Regions from separate parts of the Homo sapiens genome. Here all the other regions are linked to region 4. Evidence: promoter capture Hi-C in 16 types of primary human blood cells and fetal thymus (Javierre and others, 2016). All regions are on one chromosome and are shown on one strand. The core of a region is centred on a gene start or on the middle of the fragment in contact, and the rest is flanking DNA. Distances in the headings are between cores, read along the strand shown. Region 1 overlaps SPMIP7 (sperm microtubule inner protein 7). Region 2 has its middle 82 kb from the start of SPMIP7. Region 3 overlaps SPMIP7 (sperm microtubule inner protein 7). Region 4 holds the start of FIGNL1 (fidgetin like 1). Region 5 overlaps SPMIP7 (sperm microtubule inner protein 7).

Evidence for each region. The method cuts DNA at HindIII sites, captures the fragments that hold promoters and counts their contacts. A CHiCAGO score of 5 or more calls a contact.
Region 1: a fragment that was not itself captured here is called in contact with the fragment with the promoter of FIGNL1 in region 4 in 9 of 17 cell types (activated CD4 T cells, non-activated CD4 T cells, fetal thymus and 6 more); the score reaches 15.3 in activated CD4 T cells.
Region 2: a contact is called between a fragment that was not itself captured here and the fragment with the promoter of FIGNL1 in region 4, in 12 of 17 cell types (naive CD8 T cells, total B cells, activated CD4 T cells and 9 more). The highest score is 15.7, in naive CD8 T cells.
Region 3: a contact is called between a fragment that was not itself captured here and the fragment with the promoter of FIGNL1 in region 4, in 8 of 17 cell types (total B cells, non-activated CD4 T cells, naive CD8 T cells and 5 more). The highest score is 10.0, in total B cells.
Region 5: a contact is called between a fragment that was not itself captured here and the fragment with the promoter of FIGNL1 in region 4, in 11 of 17 cell types (activated CD4 T cells, total CD4 T cells, naive CD4 T cells and 8 more). The highest score is 14.8, in activated CD4 T cells.

What each region holds. Positions count from the first base shown.
Region 1 is chr7:50,108,614-50,113,744 of GRCh38, forward strand. All of the region lies in intron 2 of SPMIP7 (sperm microtubule inner protein 7), which reads left to right. Among named protein-coding and RNA genes, the nearest start is that of SPMIP7, 15 kb to the left of the region's middle. The HindIII fragment of the contact is 2,899 bases long and covers 1,496-4,394 here.
Region 2 is chr7:50,175,062-50,180,001 of GRCh38, forward strand. No RefSeq gene overlaps it. Among named protein-coding and RNA genes, the nearest start is that of SPMIP7, 82 kb to the left of the region's middle. The HindIII fragment of the contact is 3,503 bases long and covers 1,568-4,940 here.
Region 3 is chr7:50,159,036-50,164,088 of GRCh38, forward strand. It overlaps SPMIP7 (sperm microtubule inner protein 7), which reads left to right. Exons shown (of 9, transcript NM_001161834.3): 9 at 11-221. The coding sequence ends at 134. Among named protein-coding and RNA genes, the nearest start is that of SPMIP7, 66 kb to the left of the region's middle. The HindIII fragment of the contact is 7,687 bases long and covers 1-5,053 here.
Region 4 is chr7:50,448,654-50,453,667 of GRCh38, forward strand. It overlaps FIGNL1 (fidgetin like 1), which reads right to left and starts at 1,697. Exons shown (of 4, transcript NM_001287492.4): 1 at 1,648-1,697; 2 at 465-1,070. RefSeq lists silencers at 1,218-1,512, 1,654-1,843. The HindIII fragment of the contact is 8,767 bases long and covers 1-5,014 here.
Region 5 is chr7:50,127,515-50,132,559 of GRCh38, forward strand. SPMIP7 (sperm microtubule inner protein 7) reads left to right here. Exons shown (of 9, transcript NM_001161834.3): 3 at 2,203-2,279. Among named protein-coding and RNA genes, the nearest start is that of SPMIP7, 34 kb to the left of the region's middle. The HindIII fragment of the contact is 6,824 bases long and covers 1-5,045 here.

The sequences.
Region 1 (5,131 bases), core at 1,695-4,194, 340 kb before region 4:
AAAACTGGTGTATTTCAGACTATGATGACTCCAGCTGATGGGAGTTATTATCAACAGTGATACTTACATTGATTGTACCTACCCTGATATTTTTGTCAGAAATTACTATATTAGTTTCAAACATACTACTTAAGAAATAAATTTTTATCTATTTGAAACATGTACATAATTAATTAGAAAAAAGTTAATGACATTTCAATAGAAGTTTGAAATGACCATAATGTAGTTATTTCAGTTATCAAAGTACAGGGGATTGGGTTGTAAAATGCCTCTTAGGACACAAGCAAAATATATGAATTGATGTATAGTACAAAACACGTCTTAGCACCTTAGACAGGTCATATCATAGCTGCTGTTATTAGACACCTGTTTAAATTTTAGGAAACTTACATAAATTACTAGCACTTAATTTCAGGCTTGTTTTGCCTCTGGCTAATTAAGCACTTTCATACCAGTTGCTTTAGTATTGCACTATGTTTTTGAAATAAAAGTGAATAAAGCCTCCCCATTAAGATTGATTTATGATATATAAAATGTTCTCATGGCCTACTTGTTTACAAAGAATAAACCATTTTCACTGGAATTTACCTATTTATGGCTCAGAAATAGTTTTATGTTGAAAATATTTATATTTTAGAAAAGGAGATAAACACAACTTCATTCATGAAATAAATATTAGCCTAAAGAATAATAAGAAATGTTTTCCTTTAAGTGTCAGAGGCAGCATTTGATCAAGTTAACACAGTTTAATTTATTTATTTATTTATTTATTTATTTATTTAAGACAGAGTCTTGCTCTGTCACCCCAGCGGAGTGCAGCGGCATGATCTTAGCTCACTGCAACCTCTACCTCCTGGGTTCAAGCAATTCTCATGCTTCATCCTCCCGAGTAGCTGGGATTACAGGCATGTGCCACCACGCCTGGCTATGTTTTGTATTTTTAGCAGAGACAGGTTTCACCATGTTGGCCTGGTTGTTCTCGAACTCCTGACCTCAAGTGATCCACCCGCCTCGGCCTCCCAAAGTGCTGGGTTTACAGGTGTGAGCCACCATGCCAGGCCAACACTATTTTAAAATAAGGTAATTGTTTTGGTTACTAGGGTCAAAATCAAAGAGATTATATATTTTTATTATATCTACCTCAAATTGCAATCTAATAATTTCTGCATATGTAGAATAACCCAAAATAATAAGCTGGTAAAATAAGCTGTAATTTTTCTGATGCAATATTACTGATAGATACAGCACTGATATTGTTGATACAACATTGACATTAATTTGAATAATGTTCATTTATATTCTCAAATTTAGAACACTATTACTTTCATAAAACAATACTTTTATAAGAAGCTTAGGAGTAAAAGAACTGATAAATAAATAAAGTAAGTTTTACTGGATTTTTTGGTACACAATCATTCATAAAATTCTGGGAATTGAGGATCAATTCTGCTGTAGTCAATTTGAATATTTTGTAATTCCATATCTGAATAAATAAAGCTTGTATTTAATTATGTGGTAAAATGAAAATAGTTAATAAATTTTTTAAATGTAAAATTTCTTCATTTAATATTATTTGAAAGCAACAAAATACAGAAGAATTTAAAAAGTAAAGACCTAATCAACCAGAGAAAAACTGCATAAAACCAAAATCAATGATAATATCTTAAAAGCGGCCAGAGGTGGGGGAAAAAAACACAGATTACCTTCAAAGGCTTGACAGATCTTTTCTACATAGCAATGATAGATTACAACAGGAGTTCTTATATATATTTATTTATTACATATTTAACATATAATATATTCATATTTAATATGTTGTATATAGTTTATATATTATATATTGTATATGTGATATATATTTTTATATATTATATTATGTGCTATACATTATATTTATATATTTGATACATTATATTTATATATTTGATATATATTATATGCTTATATTTATATATAATATTTACTACATTTACATTTGACATAGTATATACTAATATTTATGTATAATATATACTACATATTATATAAATATATTATATAATGTGTGTACATCACATATATCATATAATACATTATATATACATATTATTATATAATATATTGCATATATTATATTAAATATTATATATAAATATGTTATGTTATATGATATAGATTATAATGTATAATTATAACTAATATGATATCTAACATATATAATATAATATATAATCATATTATATATTATATATTATAATATATAATTAGATATTATACTATATTACTATATATTATTACATAATATATGATTATATATAAAAAGCATAAGCTAATATATAATATGTAAAATATAAATATATATTTATAATATGTAAACCATCAGCTAATATATATAATAAATATATATGTAATATCTTTATTATATATAAAATGTATATTATATATTTATTATATATGATGTTATATTATCATATATATGATAAAATGTTCTATTATATTATATGTGTATATGTTATATATATATATTATATTATGTTATATATGTATTGAAATGGTGTCATTGTCTGGGGTAATACCCGAGATTTGTTGTCCCTTGGCCATGGAAAACTAAGACACATCAGACTGTGGATAAGAGTGGTTGTTTAACAGGCAAAAGAAAGAAAAGAGCTCTCTGCACAGAGAGGCTTCCTGGAGAAAATGGGTTCCTGCTTCTGCAGTGAAATGCAGGTTTTGTAGATGAGACTGAGGAGGTGGTGTCTAATTTACATAGGGCACACAAGATTGACTGAACCAGATGTTCCATTTGCATAGCACATGAGAATCTGGCCAATGCCACCCTAATCTTATTATGTAGATGGGTTCTCTACCTGGCTGGCACCATGTTGCTTACTTTTTACTGTACACGTGGTGACAAAGAAAAGGGAAGATGGAGCCTCCATGTTGAATATACCTGGCTTCCTGGTAGCCCTTCCCTATTGGCACAGCTGTCAGCATTCACACATGCAAACTTCGAGCATACTTATCTATGTTTACAGCTAGATTTTTCAGGCTGATCTTTGTTAGAAAAGAAATGATTTGGGTGCTGCTTTTTGTTAAAAGGGAAACCCTGTCAAGGATTCTGTTGCACTTACTATCTACTTAAATAATTTGTTTCTAGCTCCTGTATCAACATGACAGTGTATTTTGCTACACTGACAGAGAGACCACCATTAAATTAAAAATATTGCAAACCACACAAAATCCACAAAATGAATAGAAGAAAATAAAATAAATCTATTCAAAATTCAACCAACCGTAATAAAACAAAATACAAGAATCAAAACAATCTAGTGAAGACAATTACTCCCACGTCAACTATTTAGCAGTAAATGAAACATTGTACTACACCACTACAAATTGAATTACATATTTTCAAATAAGCCTTTGAGATTATAAAGGTCTGCCTTCATACAGAAATCCAAAAATTAAATACAAATCAGTGACAAAAAATAATACAAAATTATCTTGGAATAATAATTAAATGGTGCAAAGGAAAAACAGAGAAAACCAAAATTTAACAAAGGACGTTGAATAAAAAATGAAAAAATATTCAAGAGAATGAACATGAGATAAAGAATATTTAAAAGTGTTAAAGAGAAGATGGTTGAAGTGGAAGATAAACAAAGAAGAAACAATATACATATAATTGGAGGTCCTGAAGAGCAAAAACCAAGCAGTGGAACAGAATGTGTTAAACCATGGTTTCTGGACCTTGGCATGGTCAGAATTTTGGGCTTCATAAATCTTTGCTGAAGGAGACTATCCTGTGCAATGTAGGATGATTAGCAACACCCCTGACCTCACCCACTAGATGCCAGTAGCACCCTTCCCAGGTGAAAAGCTACAAAATGAACAGCAAAGTAAATCAAAAGAAAGCACGAAAAGAAAAATAAAAAAATGATAAGCAAAGTAATGAATAAATTAGAGAAGATGAAGTAACGGGCACTCAAGCTACTTTTCTGCTTTAGCCAAATAGAAAACTGGACAAATTATAAAAAATAATCATTTCCAGACACTGGCCAAAGGCACTGAAGGACTGGGATCTCTAAAGAAGGGAAACTAACGATGTGAGCCCTGCAATTACACCAGCTTGCTTCCTGGGGGCAGTTTTTAAGCCACAGCCCAGGAAAGTGAAACCCAAACATAGCTTTACATTCTTGTTGGATTGAGGAGAGAGATTAGAGTTCTGGGAAGCCAAGGAATGTAGAATTTGCAGGGTAAGATAGCAGAGAAGAGGGAGTTATCCGGATGTGGAGGAGCAGTGGGGCTTTGGAGATATGCAAAAGAGATCGCTCAGGTCTTTGGGTACTGATCTATGTAAACATAAAAGGAACTACTAAAGCTAAGGAAAAACCCACTGTAAAGAAGTGGGCATAAGCTTTCCCTGAAACTCAAACAGGACAGGGAACGTTTTATGTCCCCACAAACTAGAATAAAAAACTTTATAGTACATAGGTACATCAGGTCAGATCTTCAAAGGGATATTACCTTTGTAGTCAGGCTTAACTAGTCCAACTTTAAAGATTCCTCTGGACTTTCTCAAATTTTAAAAGCATCCGACTGATTCCAATTACTTTATTTGCTGGAAAAAAAATCCAAAACTTAAGAATAAAACAACTTCCAGCAACCAACCAACAACTTAAAGTCCAAAATAAGTTCTCAGTTTAAAAAATAAAATGAAACTACTTTTCATGCAAAGAAGCAGAAAAATATCACCCAGGGGAAAAATCTGTCAATAATAACAGATCTATGAGTGACAGACATAGAAGACCAAGCAGCTATTGTATTCAAACAGCTATTACAAATCTGTTTCATATGTTCAGATCATAGAGACAGCCACAACCATGATGAGAACAAGGGATGATATGAAGATACAAACGGACTTCTAGACATGAAAAATACATCTGAAGTAAAAGATAAGTTGGTAGTTTTAAGAACAGAGCAGATCTTGCATGATGAAAGATCAGTGAAAATAAAGACATAGCAACATAAACTATTCAAAACGAAAAGAGAGAAAATAAAGCTTCAAAATAAAGCATCAGTTACTGCGGAACGGTATCTAGTAAGAAGTCTAACATACATGCATTGGGGTCTCAGAATAAAAGTGAGCTGA
Region 2 (4,940 bases), core at 2,069-4,568, 270 kb before region 4:
TGTCATGATGACTTTGATGTATATGTCATCTTTCTGGTTATTCATTTCAGAGCCACAGAGGAGGAACTCACATGCAAAGCCCTGAGTGCAAAGCTGGACCATGAAGTTTCACTCACCTTGAACTTTAATTCACACATTCTTAGGATGTAGGTCACAACCTTAAGGATCGTAGATGCCTAAGCCCCATCCAATAACATCACTGAGAGGTTAGGGATTTGGGTGGCTTGGAGAACACAAGGGCATTCAGCCAGCTTTAGCCTGTGCTATACCCAAGTTATTCTCAAGAATCAATGGCCCAGACCTGGAGGCCAGGGAGGCCAAGGCAGTCCAGCCAGAGTCTGCTTATCTGGTAGATTTCACTGTACCCAGTGACTCCAGGTCTACCTTCCCATGGTGCAGGGACCAGATCTCTCATCTCTGGTGCTTCCTTCACCATTTTGCTCAGGAACACAGGGCTTTCATGCAAATGGGCCTCCTAGAAACTTGCTCACAGATAACACAGGGTTTATTAAAGGTAATAAACAAACACTTCACCTGTTCTAATGTGTTTCTTCTTTCCAGCTCTTGACTCTCAGCACTCTTCCTGTCTATGGTCCCACTCCTGCACCTTAGGCTGTCCATTTGCATTAATTCTCTTTAGTTTCAGAGACTTTCATGTGAATTTATTGGGCCTGGTCACTCATTTCACACCTCCTGGGAGACAGTATCTCCCTCATGTCCCGATCCCACAATGGTGATGGGAGTGTTTAACACAGAAAAACAGTGGTTTCCCCAGATTTCCCATTGCAACGACAATGTTTCAAAAAGCTTTCTCCCACCATTGTCACTAGCTCCTCTCTCCTGACTTTGCAGTACTGTCAATTAAGGAGTAAGATTCTGCCCTAAATGCAAACATTCAAGCATAGCACACTCTGGTGCAAACCCAAGGCATGCATTTCTCTTCGCTTCTATAGAAATTTGTACTCAAAGTTTACAAATATTTGTTGAGTTGGGTGTCATTTGATACAAATATGGTATGATAAGATTTCTTTTGTCCCTCATAGTGTCATCTTTACTCTTCCTTGCTCTTTCAAGGGAAAGTAAGTTTCATAAATTTTTTTAAAAAGACCAAAATTTGTTAGCATAAAACTTGTACTATTATATAAGAGTATTAGGGCCTTTAACTTTTATCATATGCTAAAATTACTTCAACATGGATCAAAAACCTAAATGGAAGACCTAAAACCAGAAAACTCTTTTTTTTTTTTTCGTCTGAGACAGAATCTCACTCTGTCACTCAGTCTGGAGTGCAGTGGCGCGATCTCGGTTCACTGCAACCTCCAACTCCCAGGTTCAAATGATTCTCCTGCCTCAGCCTCCTGAGTAGCTGGGATTACAGGCGTGCGCCACCACACCTGGCTAATTTTTGTGTTTTTAGTAGAGATGGCATTTCACCATGTTGGCCAGGCTGGTCTAGAACTCCTGACCTTAAGTGATCTGCCCGCCTTGGCCTCCCAAAGTGCTGGGATTGCAGGCATGAGCCACCACATCCAGCCCAGAAAACTCTTACAAGAAAACACAGGAGAAAAGCTTCATAATGTTGGATTTTTCAATGACTTCTTGGATATGACACCAAAAAATAGGTAAAAAAATAAAATAATTAAGTTGGATAACATCAATATTAAAAACTTCCATGCATCAGGGAATACTATCAACAGAGTGAAAAGGCAACTATCAGAATGGAGAAAATACTTGCAAATTATATATCTGATAAGAGACTATTATCCAAAATATATAAATTACCTTTTAACTCAGCAATAACAAATAACTCAATTAAAAACTGGGCTTGAATAAATATTTTTCTAAAAAAGATACACAAATGATCAACAAGCATATGAAAACTGATCAACTAATCATTAGGAAAATACAAATGAAAACTAAAATGTGATGTCACTACACACCTATTAGGATGGCTACTATTAAAAACAACAGCCAGGCACCATGGCTCACGCCTGTAATCCCAGCACTTTGGGAGTCCAAGGCGGGCAGATCACCTGAGGTCAGGAGTTCGAGACCAGCCTGGCCAACATGGCAAAACCTCATCTTTACTAAAAATACAAAAATTAGCTGGGCATGGTGGTGCGTGCCTGCAATCCCAGCTATTCAGGAGACTGAGGCAGGAGAATCGCTTGAACCTGGGAAGCAGAGGTTGCAGTGGGCCAAGATCATGCCACTGCACTCCAGCCTGGGCAACAAGAGTGAAACTGTCTCAAAAAATAAATAAAAATAACAAATACTGGTGAGGATATGGAGAAACTGGAACCCTTGTGCACTGATGGTGGGAATGTAAGATGGTTCAGTGATTATGGAAAACAATATGCTGGTTCCTCAAAAAACTAAATATATAATCCAATAATTCCACTTCTGGGTATATATCCAAAAGAATTGAAAGCAGGGTCTTAAAGAAATACTTGTACACCCACATTCATAGCAGTGTTATTCGCAATAGCCAAAAGGCAGAAGCAAGCCAAGTGTCTACTGATGAATGGATGGATGGATGGACAGATGGATGGATGGATGCATGCATGAACAACATGTGGTCTATACATACAATGGAATATCATTCAGCCTTAAAATGAAGGAAATTCTGACACATGCTACAACATGGATGAAACTTGTAGGCATGGTGCTAAATGAAATAAGGCAGTCACAAAAGGACAAATAGAGGATGATTCCCCTTATATGAGGTATCTAGAGAAGTCATATTCATAGACAGAAAAAAGAACGGTGGTTTCCTAGGGCTGGTGGTTGGAGAGAGGAATGCGGAATTAGTGTTTAATGAGTTTCACTTTAGGAGAATGAAAAAGTTCTGGGGATGGATGGTGGTGATGGTTGCACAACAGGTATTTAACACTATTTAAATATACCCTTAAAAGTGATTAGGATGATAGATTTTATGTCATGAGTATTTTACCATAGTTGTAAACAAAACTTATGTTATGAGAAATGACCAATATTGACAACAGGGAGGAATAAGGGAAGAGACCAGAAAGGAATCAGCAGACCATCAGAGTTCCAGGGTTTAGAGGGAAAGGCGGCTTGCTCAATCAAATAGGTAATTACTTATTTGCACCATCGTTTGGACACATTTTATATTCATCGTCACTTAGGAGTAAGATTATTTTCTATTGGCTACCAGTTATATCAGGAAAGGTTTCCAGACCATTGATGAGAATGAAAAATATGTCCTGCGCTTTCAAATAACTAACTCCCTGGAGCAACAAACACATATCCAATTAGCTGACAGTGCTTTTATGGAAATATAAACAAAATTTAATGAAAGCAGTTTATTTTCCCCGAGCACATTAGAAAAGCCATCTCGGAGTACTTTGCGTTAAGAATGCTCAGGGTCTTTCTGATAAAGAAAGGGAGCAAGCGTGCCAACCACATGCCCAATGTGAGCAATGACACAGACCCAGTTGGGCCCGGTGCTCTGCTGAGAGAGCAGGCAGGGAGAGAAGGAACTCATGCTGAACCTGCGACAAGCCCATGAAGAGCTCTGAACACCATCATGAGGACTGAGATGATAGGTTGTCTCTAATAACCATCTGAGCTGGCCTCTGCCTGGTGCTGCTACTTTCAATGGTGCTGCTACTTCTCCCAAAGAAGCCTGCCTTTGCTCCTGGGATTGCCTTAGGAAATGCCATGCATGCCCAAGGCAAAATTGTCATTGGAAAACTACCTCACATATACTTCACGCTGAGGCATGAGTTAAGCTGAAGGCTTTTATGTCAGCAAGCTAGTAGTCTGAGTGTGCACAGTTCACCTAAAGCTAGTTTGCTTTCATTAGTACCAGAGATGCAAGAAAGCCATACACCAGATTATCTATAGCATTCAAATGGAGGTAAACCAAGGCTTACAAATAAAAATTCATTGCCCCTAGTTTTCACTCATGACTAGAAAAATTCCAATTGTGCCTTCATAGTTTTTATTCAATAATCATTTTAAAGCATCTACTATCTGCTGGCATTTGTACTGGGTGCTGAGAATACAATGGGAAACAAAACACATTCCTGGCACTCATAGGGCTCACAGAGAATGGGCAAGATGGAAACACACAGCTGATGGTGAAGCCGGGTGAAGGCTGCCATCCTGCAGTCCAGTTAGTATGTATGTGCCGGCACCTCAACAAGCCCGGAGCTCTCTTATGCTCCAGTAAACCTGACAGGTCATGCTGTCATTAACGATCCCATTTTCCAGATCAGGAAAACTGAGACCTAGAGGGGAAGACCACTGCAGAGCAGGGATTGACCAGCCATCTCAGTCACTTGCAAGGAGGAGAGAGTCCTTGGAAAGGAATAGCCCCCCAAAAAAAGGCATGACCAGGACTAGCAGAAAGCACTTCTGGGACAGCAGGGAAGGGACTCGGGACATGGCCAGATGGTAGCTGCTCCTGGGCCTTGAATGCCAACTCGGGCATTTTTCTTTATTAATTTATGCCCTGAGCTCAGGCAGCTTTCCTCATGATTCCATGGGGGTTTTGTTTTTTCTTTGCCTTAGAGTTAATTAAACCGATGCGCTGGCCCTGATAGCCATGCAATTATATTCCCTAAGTGCTTTCACACACGGCTGGGTTTAACAACAGCAGATGAACAGTTTGGTTATCCATGGTGCAGTCGGTGAGAGTCCAGCACAGAATTGAAAGATATCTCTGGTCGAATTAGCTTCTGAGGAATCTAGACCAGAGAACTCAGAGGCGGGTGGCAGCGTGACCCCAAAGGCACTTGGCTGTGCAACTGGCTTTGCCAGAACCCTGGGGAATTCCACCTGGAACCCTCCAAGACCCCAAAGGCAAAGAAAAAGCACACATAGACCCCTGTGCATTACCATTTTTTCAAACGTTCCAGGAAATAAATCCTGTCACCTTTACCAAGTTCCTTATCCATCCAGACACTTCCGTT
Region 3 (5,053 bases), core at 1,450-3,949, 290 kb before region 4:
CCTGCCCCAGCGTCTTCCAGAAAGAAATGGCAGTTGACCTCTTCCGTCACCAGGCTCCCCTGTCTCGACTGGTCACAACTGTGAGACCCTACAACCCTTTCAACAAGAAGGACAAAGAAACCATAGACTACTAGAGGAGGCGGCCCTGCGCGGGCTGTCCAGGCCTCCGCCTGGGGAAGGCTTGTGCGGCGGTGGGAAATAAAGGCTGCTTCTCCGCGCTGCGCAGTGTGGTGGGTTCGGTGCTGTTCTCCGCTGGCCTGCGCGTCCCTGCCCAGCCCGCCTCTCTCCCCCGGCAGGCGGCGCTCAGCTGGACACTGGGCGCCCGCCAGCCGCGGCGCAGACTCCCAAGCCGCCGGCAGCAGGGTAGCAGGGCCTGTGTTGCAGAAGATTCCTCTTTAGGGTTGGAATATTGGGTCTACCTAGAGGTTTCACATGGCACCACTTCAGTGCAGGGATTCTAGAGCAGAGAGCAGACCATAGATTTTAGAATCTCAAAGGCAGTCTAGTCAAAAATCCGTATGCTGTCAGTGGGAACCCTGAGCTACTGAGAAAGTGCGTTCTTCTTTTCTAGCAGGGGACATCACACAAGGGGACAACATCTACCCTCTCTTGGCCTGCTCCAGTGTTTCCTTCAGAGAGAAGTGTTCCCCAGTCCCCATGAGGGTCCTGAAGTCTAAGTCAGGACCACTTTGGGTTAGAGTGTGGCCTGACCCGGCCTTGACCAAAGAGAGCACCAGCTCGCAGAATCTCTCAGGGGTGCATGTGGGCTGAGGGGGAGCCCTCTGGCCTTCGGAATATACACATAAAGTACATTTATATAGTATTTGCATGCACATATACACATACACAGAGCCTATTGGAGTTTACAAAGTGCTTTTGTAAACCTTAGCTCATTTGATCCTGCAACCTTGTAATAAATTCTTATAGCAGGCATTTTACAAATATCTTGCAATTTATGAATTAAATAGACTAAGGCCAGGAGAAGTGAAGTATTTAAGGTCACGCAACTAATAATTAGTAGAGTTATAACTAGAATCCAGGTTTTCTAAATTTAGATATTATACCTCTCCTACCCTTCCATTTTTTCAGCAAATTGGATAACCTTCAATGAATTATAAAAACAAAACAAATAGAAACTGAAAAAAAAAACCCTCCCTGTGTTTCTAGACTTTTCTGAAGTGTCTCAGGGTTTTTATCTGACTTCTAAGAAATTAAGATCAAGATAGTTATACCTCAGAACTCCAAGTAAATGTGTAAATTCTTTTGGGGGTAGTTTGTTCTTGATTTTCCCACAGAAAGGGGGAAGTCAGCTATCTTTGTGATGGAATCATGTATTGCCTCAATGGACAACAACACATGCTTCGATGGTGAGTGTTTTACCAGGATGAAAGAGGAAGGGCAACAGCCATCCATCCTGAGGGCGGACGTGCCTGCGTGCAAAAGGAATGGTTCCCCCTGAACCCAATCTTGTAGTTTCATTATTTTTAGAAAGAGTAAATTGGAAAAAAAATAGACCCAAATAAAAATCTTCAACTCTGGAATGTTCTCAGCAAAACACAAATGGGGCAGTATTAGCCTCCTTCAGGAAGCAGGTTAACGTAGGTACCTGAGATTACATTTTGCAGTAAACATCCCTGGCAGGCCACTTTGCCAGGGGGTGGTGGTGCTCAAAATCTGAGGCACCTCTTCATCATTCTGGGCCTGGATAGGGCTTCAGTAATACTGGATCTTAGCATTTTCCAGGCTAAGATAATTTTTCCATTCTCTACAGTGCAGATACCTAGACACCTGTAAGAGCACTTGAACACCCCAATGCTGCTTCTAGAAGGATGTTGGCTTTGTCTGCGGCATCCCTGGGCCTCATTCAGAAAAAGAGAGATGGTGACTCTTCATTTGCTTGTTCAGACTTATCACTTGTGAAGATAAAAATGCAAATCCTGTTCACCACAGACCTAGAATCCCAAGGTCAGTCACAACAAGGAAGAACATAGAATTACCAGTGTTCCTGACCCTGACCTGTGGGGTGGGTGTAAGTTGTAGTATTTGGGCTTCTGTGGTCAACATTACAACTAAAAGTCACAAAAGCCATGGAAAATAGTCTCAGGGATACACATCTGCTCTTCAGATTCTGAATTCTGGTCTTGCATGATTTCTTTCACCAGGAGCCAGCAGAGCTGTGCTTCCTCGGACTAACAACTTGCCCCTCACTCCCTACCCTCCGGGCACCGTCTCCTCTATAAAGTCACCCTCTCAGCTTTTCTTTATCCCCAGAGATGACACAAATACAGAGAACTGTGGCATTTTTATAGCATTTAGGTGAAAGATGTTATAAATTATACAGTTCACCTGAGAGAAAAAATACATGCTAAACCAGGCAGTGCCTCACACCTGTAATCCCAGCATTTGGGGAGGCCAAAGCGGGAGGATTGCTTCAGCCCAGAGTTCAAGATCAGACTGGGCAACACAGTGAGACCTCTTCTCTACAAAAAAAAAAAAAATCAAAAAATGAAGGAGGATCACTTGAGCTCTGGAGGTTGAGGCTGCAATGAGCCATGATTGCACCATTGCACTCTTGCCTGGGTGACAGAGTGAGACCCTGCCTCAAAAAAAAAATAAATAAATAAATAGAAAGAAAGAAAGAAAATGAAAGAAGAAAATCCATGTGAATAATCTTATTCTAGCAAATAAGGATGTTAGAATGCAGCATATTAAAATATTACAAAAGTACAATACTATGAAAAAATATGGCACTCAACACAGAGCAGAATGGAAACTAGAATTGAACAGAGGAAAGTATTTTGAACTCCTGAGTGCAGGATAGGTTTTTTTCAATAGATGGTATTGGGACAACTATTTGAAACAAAAAAGAAATGTAGATCCACTAAATGAATTGTTCCTGGAATACAGACTTAAATAGATAAGTTACAGATTACTCGGAAATTCAAGAGAATTGGTTTATAAGGTGGAGGGTGTGAAAAAAATTTCCGAAAAGGACACTGAAGGAGATAAAAAGCTACTTTCAGTATAAAAAATACAACCAAAATTTTAAGATAAAACTGCCAGGAAAATATGTCAAAGGATTCATATTCTCATTGTAAAAACAGCCTATGATTTAAAAATGATTATACTAATAAAAACAAGTCAAAGGATGTTAATAAAAAATAAGAAATATGAATGGCCAATACAATTTTTATACCTCAGTAGTATTAGAGAAATGACAGTAGTATTTCACTTTTCACCCACAAACTGGTGCTTATGAGCAGAAATAGATGTCTGTATACCACCGGTAGTTTACATGGGTAATACCTTCCTAGGGGATATTTGGCAAAATGTTTTAAGAGCTTTCGCAAGTGGCTTACATTTCAACTTGGTCATTTCGTTTTTAGGATTTTGTCAAAGCAAATAATCACACAGTAAGCAAATATATATGCATAAAGAATTAAAGGTGCAGCATTTTATTTAACTGAGAGAAAATGAAAACAACTTACTGTCCTGTAGGGTAAACACAACTGATAGCAATAACTTAAGCATACTCTTAGAATGACCCTTATGGCAGATGCACCTGATGTGTGTTCTGAGCTAGGGCATCTGGGAGTGGCTAACACAGAGATTGGTTTCTTATCTATGATAAACATCTGAGCCCCTGTCCCATCCTGTGGAACATGGCCGAACAAGAGATTGAGGCCCTGAGTTTTGGGTTCATGAAGGTTGGAAGGTGGAGTTCACTAGGAGGAGGATGTTAAGTGAAAATGCTATATAAACTGCATGCTGTTTGCAAGCAGTTGCAGTTTTCCTGGCCAGCCTGCTGCCACTGGGTTATGTGGTTATGTTGTCCAGGCTACCACCACCATTTCTGTAATTAAGGCAGTCCTATTATCCAGCCTGCCTGCATTGGACTCTCTCCCCTGTATAGTATGCTCCTAATAAAATCCCATGCTTCATTTGCTGTCTCTGGATCTCTTCTTCGGCCTCTTGAACCTAGTGTCTTCCCTATTGAGATGCAAAGTTCGATACAACATGCCCATCGAAAGAAAATGTGATAGGCCGGGCGCGGTGGCTCACACCTGTAATCCCAGCACTTTGGGAGGCCAAGGTGGGCAGATCACCTGAGGTCAGGAGTTTGAGGCCAGCCTGGCCAACATGGTGAAACTCCATCTCTGCCAAAAATACAAAAGTTAGCCAGGAATGGTGGTGGGCACCTGTAATCCCAGCTACTCAGGAGGCTGAGGCAGGAGAATCACATGAATCCAGGAGGCGGAGGTTGCAGTGAGCCAAGATTGGGCCACTGTACTCCAGCCTGGGCAACGAGAGTGAAACTCCATTTCAAGAAAAAAAAAAGAGAGAGAAAATGTGATAAATTGTTGTACATTAATGTACTGAAATATATGCATTAAAAAGATAATAGAGCTTCGTATTGATTATCATGAAAAGATATATATGCAATATTGTTAAATGCAAAAGCAGGTATTACAACAGCGTGTATTTAATTATTTAAATTTTAAATATATGTATACATAGAAGACTGTAGAGAAAAGGTAAATAGTTACTAGTTCTGAGATTACAGGTGATTACCCTTTTATACTGTTACTACAGTAGGCATGTGTTCTTAAAAACTGGAAAACTTAAGAAGTTATAAAAAAGTCAATGCCCTTTCTCTTCAAAGGTCCTTACATAAGAAACTATCCAAAACATTCCTTTTAATAATTTAGAACCAGAAAAATGATTGTCCCTCCTGAAAAAAACCTGGTTTTAGAGTATGAGAATCATATAAGTCACCCACCTCAATCTCTTATAAAATCTGCTGGTTTATAACATATACAGGAGTGAAATTACATAAGGTAAAGTGCTTCCACTTCCCCCTGCCTGCCGGGGAGCTCAAAGCTGAAGTGAATAAACATATTAACTGATAGCTTAAACACTTGAGCCAGGGTTCCACATTTGAAACTGACATTTGAATAAGCCACTAATGGAGTCATCCTGACCCAGGTTCAAGTTTGACAACCACTGATGACTCTGAGGGCTGTGTGCCTGCTTCCTCCTGCATTAGCTACAT
Region 4 (5,014 bases), core at 447-2,946:
AAATGAAAACCAAGAAACCCTACTTTAGGTTCAAGTATTTGAAATTTTGCCTTCCAAATTACTTGTAAGTACAACAGCCAGGTTTAATGCAGCTTTTATCTCCCATAATGCCTTACAAAGACATTTGTCACATTGTAAGTAGGTGTTCACAAATCTTTGTTTAAAAAACAATTAGAAAACTTAAGATCCAGAGCTTTAAAGACACTGTAATTTATTTAAAGCTGTAAAGCTAAATAAGCTAGAGTCAAAACTAGATCTGACCTCTTCTGTCAAGCAGTTCATCCTTTTTTTCACTATACCATTTTGATGTTAAACTCATTTATACAATACTAGAAATGAGAAACTGAAAGAAAGGTGACTCAGAAAACACTTGACACAAACTTTCACAATTAATATTATCATTCTCTTCCTCTCCATGGCTTCATTCCCCTTTATCATCTGTTATCCTGAAATTTCTACCATACCTCAGAGTTCTAGTCACTGTTCTCAGAATAAACCCCCTTCTCTTTTCCATCTTCACCTTTCCTTCAATATTCATCTTCCAAGTCTTACTTCTTCCTTTCAATTCAATCATTTAAATGGCAAATAAGGATAACCAAAAACTGGCCATCACCGATCAGTGACACAACCATTGTCTTGTTTACCATTTCCAAGTCAATTTAACCTTTATGGCCTTTCCTAGATCTAAAAAGTATGATTAATTAGCACTGTCATATGAACTGCATTTCAATCTTCTTTATTTTGCCAATGTTCTGATTATTTTAATAATGTCATTATCTGTCTTCCTAGACAGTTGGCTTCTGCAGGGAGGAATTGTTTTCCATTCCATTCACATTGTCTTAGTACCTAGAATACAGTGTCCTTTGGAATAATAGCTACTAAAATACTGACGGAGTGCCTACTCAGTACCAAGCACTGTGCAAGCCTTTCATAGGATTCTGTTCTTGATGCAAAACGGGAGTTAAGAGCACAGGGTCTGGAGCCAGGCTGCCTGCTTTCAAATCCTGGCTCTATCATCTGCCAGCAGTGACTGCAGGAAAATCTCTTAATGTCTTTCTGCCGGTTTTCACCTATAAAAGAAGCGCAGCAACATCACTGAGCTGACAAGGTATTTTAATTCTGCAAAGCACTAGACAGAGGACTCAGCACTTAGAAAATACTCTATAAAATACTGCTTCTTCTGATTCCTCACGATGACCCCTGAAAGGTATGAGCCCTTCTTTCTCATCACAGAGATTAAGAGCTTGCCTGGGTCACAGGGGAACTGACTGACCCCCGCTGTGGGCGCCCAGAGCCCCGCTGGGCCCAGTAAATGCCTGCGGTAAGCGGCCCCGCCCCCGGACAGGCTCTGCCAAAGGAAGCCGCCCGCAGACCTGGCCCCGAGCCTGCCGTCCACGCCGGGCCCCAGCTTCCTAATCCTGGATGAGTCTGGTTCTGGGCTAGCGGGTCAGCCACCCTCCCGCTAAGACAGAAGCAAAAGGGCACAGCCACTGCCTGGCTCCCGCCTCCCACGGCCTCCCGCGAAGTCACCGCCCCGCGACCCCCAGCATTCCAGAGGCACACGCCCGCCTCTCCCCTACGCCCCAACCCTGATGCTCCACAGGGGTCAGCAGCGCCCCTGCCCCGCCTCCCGTCACCGCATCCTACCTGCGGCTGGTGTGGGACGCTGGCAGCCTCCGAAAAGCGCGGGGACTGACGTGCGCCTGCGCGCTGCTGTCGCCCTCGGACTCGCGCCGTACGTGCGTGCGTGAGTGCGTGAGTGCGTGCGTGCGTGCGTTCGGCGCGCGGGGCGTGGGCGCGGCACCTGGGCCCGGGCACCGCCACCTAGGCCCTAGCTCCGACCAGTGGTGTTCTATAAACGCTTATTACATCATTGTGCATAGGCTTCATTTTTAAAAGTACTCCCAAATAAATACAAGGAGGCGATGGAAATTGAATGAAGATTCGAAGGATTCCCATAGAGCGTGGCTCACTTCCCCTCACCGGGACAGCGAGCGGCGGCTCACCTGGGAGAGCAAAGCGTGGCTCTCCTGCGCCCACCCGGGAGAGCAAACAATGGCTCACCTGCGCCCACCCGGGAGAGCAAGCGTGGCTCACCTGCGCCCACTCGGGAAAGCCAGCCGCCATCCTGTGCTGCAGGCAGGGAGCGGGCGGCGGGAGAGGAGCGGATCCACTTAGGTCAGCGGTTAAAACGTCGTTACAAGAGGCCACCCCGGCATCGCGGGGCCTGTGGCTGCGCCCCCTCTTGAATTCAGGCCTAGCACATCACCTCCGCCCCTCGCACCCTGCAGTCTGCGCTCCATACAGCACGTGAGCGGGTGCTCAGCAATGTTCCCTGGCTGAAAGAACCGCATAGAGTAGCATGCAAAAATGACATGCATGTTTAAGATAAAATAAGGGAGAGGACACCTGTTCTGACTGAGTCTGGCAACTCAGATCTCCCCGCAGCCAACATCTACATTCCTTTGGACAGCTGTCTGCTGTGTAGGGACACCTCCCTGGAACTTTGAAAAGCACCCCATCATTACCTTCCACTTTGTTCTGGAGCAAGGTTTCAAAAGAAGAGTGCCGTATTTTGATTAATTTAGTGAATTGGATTTTCAGACACAAGTAAGAGCATCCACTCAGTGGCCTCTGCAGTAAATAATGATATCAGATCACATAACAAGAAGACTGGAGGTTGGCGGGAAATCTGGACCTGGTGACTCAAAGAAGTCATGAAGGACCATCTCTCCATTCTGCCACCTTCTCGCCTGTGGATTTTCCTCCCCAGGCTTGTCACTTCATTGTCGAGAGATGCCCTCACAATCCAAGCCAGGCAGCCTCACATGACCAGATCTAAAACACAAAGAGGGAGCCAAACTGAGAAAGGACCTTTTCCCTCTGAACACTTCTCTCTTGGAAAAAGAAAATGTTTCCCAGAAAGCCTCATAGCCTTCCTCTTATATCTCCTTGACTAACTGGGACCCGGATCCCTGGATATCCTTTCCTGAGAAAGAGAGGGTCTGGGGCAGGGGATAGAGAAAATGACTAGCAACTAGCAGCACATGATGTTTAAACATAAGATTTAAAGAAATGCAAGGCACAAACAATTTGAAGACTTTTTTTAAGTTTTTAAAATCTTCACAAAATAAAAAGGAATTGGACAATGCACTTTAAAAACTAGAAGACGTTTCACTGAAAACAGCATCTCCTAATTCATTTCATGGCTTAGATAGTAATAGAAAATTATTTTATTCTAATTCCATACTTTATCAACTAATTTTAATTATTTTATAATTACCCAAAATATGTCATGTAGAATGAAAATAAAAGAAAATGAAAACAGTTATATCAAGGCCAAGTCAGTTGTATGTTTACTGGCTATTTAGAAATTTCTAAATACGTGTATATTTAGAAATGACTATATAGATACTATTTGGGTAATGTTAGGGATGGAAAGTTTATGTCCCCCCAAAATTTGTATGTTGAAATCCTAAGCCCAATGTGATGGTTTTAAGGGGCGGGGCCTTTGTGAGGTGATTAGGTCATGAGAGTGGAGACTTCATGGATGAGAATAGTAAGTATCCTTATAAAAGAGACTCCAGAGGCTGGGTGCAGTGTCTCATGCCTGTAATCCCAGCACTTTGGGAGGCCGAGGCAGGTGGATCGCCTGGGGTCAGGAGTTCGAGACCAGCCTGGCCAACATGGCAAAACCCTGTCTCTACTAAAAATACAAAAATTAGCCAGGTGTTGTGGTGGGCACCTGTAATCCCAGCTACTTAGGAGGCTGAGGCCTGAGAATTGCTTGAACCCAGGAGGTGGAGGTTGCAGTGAACTGAGATCGCGCCACTGCACTCCAGCCTGGGGGACGGAGTGAGACTGTCTCCAAAAAATAAAATACAATAAAAGAGACTCCAAAGAACTTTCTAGCCCTCTTGCCACCACCTAAGGATGCAAAGAGTTGACAGCAACCTGGAAGAGCCCTCACCAGAACTCGACCATTCTGGCACTCTGACTTCCAGCCTCCACTGTGAGAAATAAATTTCTATTGTTTATGAGCCACTCAGCATATGGTACTTTGTAGCCCTAGACAGGCTAAGACAGGTAATTAGCAATTTTAGGTGATTTTCATCATCAAAATTTTCATGATGGCATTTTGGAGAATTCACATAAACCACTCTGTTACCCTCCTAAAAGTATTGCTCAAATACTGAATTATATTTATGCTTGCCAAAGTTAATTTTTTTCCAACAAGTAACACTAGCCACTTCATTTTGTGCTTTTGATACAAAAGCATTTCCCAATCCAGCGGCTTTCATCTTCTGGCCTGGTTGGCAAAAGTGTAACTCACTTCTGCACCCTCTCTGAACCCTAGTCTCCTCCTCAAATGTAAAACAGTAATAAACCTTTCTTACCCAGGAAGCCATTATAAGGATTATAATCAACATAAGATATAATTCTTTAATTATCAAAGCAGTTGCTGGCATGTGGCAGGCATTCAACAGAAACCGTGTTGCTATGTTATTTTTATTGTTACCATTAATATTCCTATTGGGATTGAAACCCTTATGTCATATCAAAACTTTTCCATCTTTGACAAATGAGACATATTAGGATAGTATCTTAATAATATGTAAGAGTTTAGTGCTTGAGCTATTCAATTATTAAACTTTGCTTCCAAGACCACAGACTGGTGGTATATACTGTGTGCGTGTGTGTGTGTGTGTGTGTTTGTGTGTGTGTATGAGAAAGAATATGCTGTTCTTTTCTTCTTCTGGGTAGAAGTTGTTGAGCCTTCAAGGGAAGAGGTTTTCACCTACAGCAGACAGTGCCAGTTCTCTTGGTGTGAGGGATTCTGGGAGATGGCTGCCCATTTCCATATTCATGAATTTTATAAACATGGTCTCAGATAAATGCAAGTGTACACTTCGGTGAGCTCATTTGTTTTTGAGCAGAGGGGATAATACGGCCCTAAATAATGTGCTTCCCTGTCAGCCAGGAGAGTTACATTCTGGAGATGTGTGTGTCGGTG
Region 5 (5,045 bases), core at 426-2,925, 320 kb before region 4:
CCAGAATGTATATAAAGACCTCAAACAACTCTATAGCTATGTATATATATGTATGTCTTATTTTTATGTGTTATTCTGAAAAACGTCTATTCATATCTTTTTCTATATATATATATATATACTGATTAAAAATGGGCAAAAGATATGAGTAGACATTTTTCAGAATAAGACATAAAAATAGTCAACAGGTATATGAAAAAATGCTCAATATCACCAATCAGAGAAATGCACATCAAAACCACAGTGAGATATCATCTCACACCAGTTAAAATGTCTTTTATCAAAAAGTCAGGGAATAACAAATGCTGGTGAGGATATGGAGGAAGGAAAACTTTCATTCACTGTTGGTAGAAATGTAAATTAGTACAGTCACTATGGAAAACAGTATGGAGGTTCCTCAAAAACCTAAAACTAGAAATACTATATGATTCAGTGATTCCACTACTGAGTATATATCCAAAAGAAAGGAAAACAATATATCGAAAAGATATCTGCATTCCCATGTTTATTGCAGCCCTATTCGCATTAGGCAAAATGTGGAATCAACATAAGTGTCCATCAGTGGATGAATGGGTAGAGAAAATGTGGTATATATACACAATGGAATATTATTAAGCCATAAAAGAGAATAAAATTCTGTCATTTGTACCAACGTGGATGGAACTGGAGGTCATTATGTTAAATAAAATAAGCCAACTACATAAGACAAATATTGCTTGTTCACACTGATATACGAAAGCTAAAATGGTGGATCTCATGAAGATAGAGAGTAGATTGGTGGTTACCAGAGGCCAAGAAAGGGAGTGTGGAGGGAGGATAAGGAGAGGCTGATTAATGGGTACAAATATACAGTTAGATTCAATAATTAAGACCATGTTTGATATATCAGTGGGGTGACTATAGTTAACAATAATCTGTTGCACATTTCAAAATAAATAGAGGAGAAAAATTCATATGTTTCTAGCACAAAGAAAAGATAGATATTTAAGGTGATGGATATTCCAATTACTCTGATTTGATTTTTACAGATTATATGAATGTATCAAATTATCACATTTACCCCCAAAATTTGTATATCTATTATGTATCAATACAAATACATTTTAAAACTATGAAAGCCGATAGTGGTAGAATAGAAGGTACATGCGGAAGTTAGAGATAAAGCAATGCAAAAATTAAGAGACATGAACCACAGAATGAAAAGTCCAGTATTTGTCTGATAGTAATTCTAAAAGAAGAGAATAATTATAATTCATGGACAGTAAATAGATAAAGATAGAGAACTATTTGATGAAAGTTATGAATTGTTAAATCGAAGAAGTATAACAAGTCCTGAGCCAGATAAACAAAAATATAGCCTCTCCTAAACAAATTACATTGAATCTGTAAAAAATCTCAAGACAATGATAATGTCCTAAATATAAGCAGAGGGGAGGAAAACAGAATACCTGCAAACAATTAAACTCAGTGTATTTTAAAAGCAACAATACATCCTCGAAGTCAATGAGGTAAATTTGTTACTAAAAAAATCATCACTAGAATTGAACTAGAACTCTGAACCCAAGTTAGAACACTTTTCAAAACTGAGGGTGAATTAAAACATAGAACTAGAAAAAGTTTACATTTGTGAAAGAATTAACAAAAATTGAACTTCAGCAGAAAGAAAATGGAACCAAGTACCTAGGGGAGAAAAAACAAGTACAATAAAAAAGCAAAAGGAGGCAACAAATTGGTAAAATATCATTGAAAATTGAAATAAATAGTAACCATTAAAGATAATAATGATTATAACAATAATTAGTTAATTAATTTTGATAAAATAACTGGAAGATAAAGTATCTCATAACTAATCTCTTTATGTTATTAGAAGAAAAGACAATACGTTCTAAAATTTTTTTAATTACATTGTGCTAAAACTAAGTATTTGCTGATGTTTCCAATTCAAGAGCTTTCTCTTAAGTTCTCACTTTCCATTAACTTTAATATACATTTTGTGAATTTAATGATTATGACAATAAAACAATGCAAATTCCTTAAACAGGAGAGGAAAAGTAGGGAAGCATTAAATCTGGTCAATCCAAGAGGTGCGTGAAAGAAGAAATATGAAGAAAAAGGAATCCAAAAGAAAACATGATGACTAGAAAACAATAACAATTTCCATTTATATTTGGTCTCTTTTAACTTATTTTTCATGCCTTCTAGGATGAAGGTGAACCACTTGTTCAAACAAACAAGAAATGTAATGCAAAGGACTCATTTTACAAGTCCTCTACACAAAAGTAAGCAGTTTTCCCAGTGGAATTTTGATTTTGGAATATATTTCTTTTTCCTTTATGACACATCCTCTTTATGTCTATAATATCCTGGATCTTATGAGTGACACAGAGGACATCAAACGCAGACATTTACTGATATTGATTGCTAAAATAAACATTGAAGGAAGAGTCTTAAGGCACACCTATGCTTGATGGAAGAATAAAACCATAACAGAAAGTAAATGGTCAAAGAGGGAGTGGGGGGATAAGAGTACAGCATCCTAGAAAGCCAAGACAGAGAAAGTTTAAATGGGAGAATTCATTGACTCAGTCAACAAATATATTGGGTACCTATTACGAATCTATGTTTTAGACTATGAGCTACATCAGTGAGTAGGCAAAGATCTCTGCTCTCAAATCTCTCATTATAAAGGTGTATTGATCTCTTTTCACTCTGCTAATAAAGACATACCAGAGACTAGGCAATTTATAAAGGAAAGAGGTTTAATTGACACAGTTCCACATGGCTGGGGAGGCCTCACAATCATGGCAGAAGGCAAGGAGGAGCAAAGTTACGTCTTATATGGTGGCAATCAAGAGAGCCTGTGCAGGGCAGCTCCCATTTATAAAACCATCAGATCTCGTGAGACTTATTCACTACCACGAGAACGGTATGGGGGAAACTGCCCCCATGATTCAATTATCTCCACCTGGCCCCACCCTACACAGGTAAGGATTATTACAATTCAAGGTCAGATTTGGGTGGGGACACAGCCAAACCATATCAAAAGGGAAACAGACAATAATAAACAAACACACTTAGAAAGTAAATAGATCATATCTTAAAAAGTGACAGATAAGTCTATTAAGAAAAGGTAGAACAGGACAAGATCAGGAGTCCCACATGTACAGGGTAGCAGGCTTCAGTAATAAGTAGGAGGTGTGGGGAGGCCTCCCCAGGTGCTGAGGGGTGTGCAGAAATTTGGAGGAGTTGAGAGAGCAGCCATGCAGAGATTTGGAGTGACTCTATACCCTGAAGAGGGAATATAGAGCAAAAGCCCAGGTCAGAAGTATGCTTAAGATGTTAAGGAAGAACAAAAGGCCAGGGTGCCTGGAGTAGGGTAACAGTAGGGTAAGAGGAGGGAGTAGCAAAAGGAGAGGTCAGAGAAGTGCTAGGAACCAGATCTTGTGGGACACTTTAAGCAATTGTAATTTTACCAGGACTGTCATTCTGAGTGACATGAGGCTTTAGCAGAGAAGTGGAAAGATCAGACTTATACAAGAAGGTAATAATCATGGTGGCTGCTGTGATCAAAGTAGATTTTTACAGGGGAGAGAAGATGGAACACCAGTTAGGAGGTTATTGTTGTCATTTAGGACAGAGATAATGGTAGCTTGGGGGAGAGTGCTGGCAGAAAAATTTGTAAGCAACGGTTGAGTTCTGGATGTATGTCGAATGTAGAGCCAACACAATTTTCTGATTGTGATGAATCTGGAGAAAAGACGACTCAAAAATGATTCTAAGGCTTTGGCCTATGCAGCTGGATGTACTGAGGTTGCCATTTCATAACAAGGTGAAGGCAGTGGAGAAGTCAGTTTTACATACATTGAATATAAAGATGTTCATTAGACATCCAAGTGGATATGTCAAGCAGGCAGTGTGAAATATGGATTTGAAGTTTGAGGCAGAGGCCTGGGCCAGAGAAATCAACCGGGGTGTCATGGCTTGTAGAAAGGTATGTAAAGCCATGGAACTGAATGAGAACACTAAAGGTGAAGTATAGTCATACAGGCAAAGGGCACTGAGTCCTGGCATCTCGTTAAAAAAGAGAAAAAAAGAGGAGAAGCCAGCAATCGAGACTGAAACGGAGCAACCAGTAAGGTAGGAGGAAGATGAAGAGTCTAGGTCCTGGAAGGCAGATTGAGGATGTGTTCAGGGAAGAGTAGTGATTGCCTATTCACATCATGCAAATAGGTCAAGTGGGATGAGGCCCAAGAATGGATAATGGGGCTGACTAGTGGATTTAGAATTCAGCAGAGTGATAGAGTGAATGCCAAAACACATGGCATGACACAGAGAAATGGATGAAGAGGGAAAGAGAGGCAACAAAGAGAATAAAGAAATGACAACACGTGTGGACCTCAAAGCACTCCATATCTGCCCACTCTTTTTTCTTCACATATTTTGAACACTTCAGACAGGCTTCACATTTCAACTTCATTTTTTTTCATTCAAATTAAAAGTATACCCATGACCAAACATAGTGTCATGAAACACATGTATGAACGCCTACTATCCCAGGGGTGTTATGAAAACACTTAAAAACATGATATGAAGTTGGATCTCAAAGTATTAGAACAACATGAGGAAAAAGTCTTGTTCATCAGCCATCTTAGAATCCAACTCTAAGGCTTAAAACATACCTGCTTGCTGAACATGGGATCCTTGTTGAACTTGCTGAACTTGCTGAACTTGGCATCCTCCATTCTTTTTCACCTCAATTTTCTCATCTTAAAAATGAAGGATGATAACCAAATGGCTCATAAATTCCTCTCTGACTTTTGGGTTTATTTCCCATTGTATTCTTATCTTGATTTTAATTTTAAAAATTCCAGTGATCATCTCAGAAACAGTTAATATTTTATTAAGGTTGTGATACTTCACTCAGAATGGAAAAGTTTTATTATATGACAAAGTATCAAATCATAGTATTAAGTAGTTTCTCTTTAAACATATAAAGTATCCTTAGGGAAAAGTTTATTACCTTCATGGAAAATTCCATAAAATAT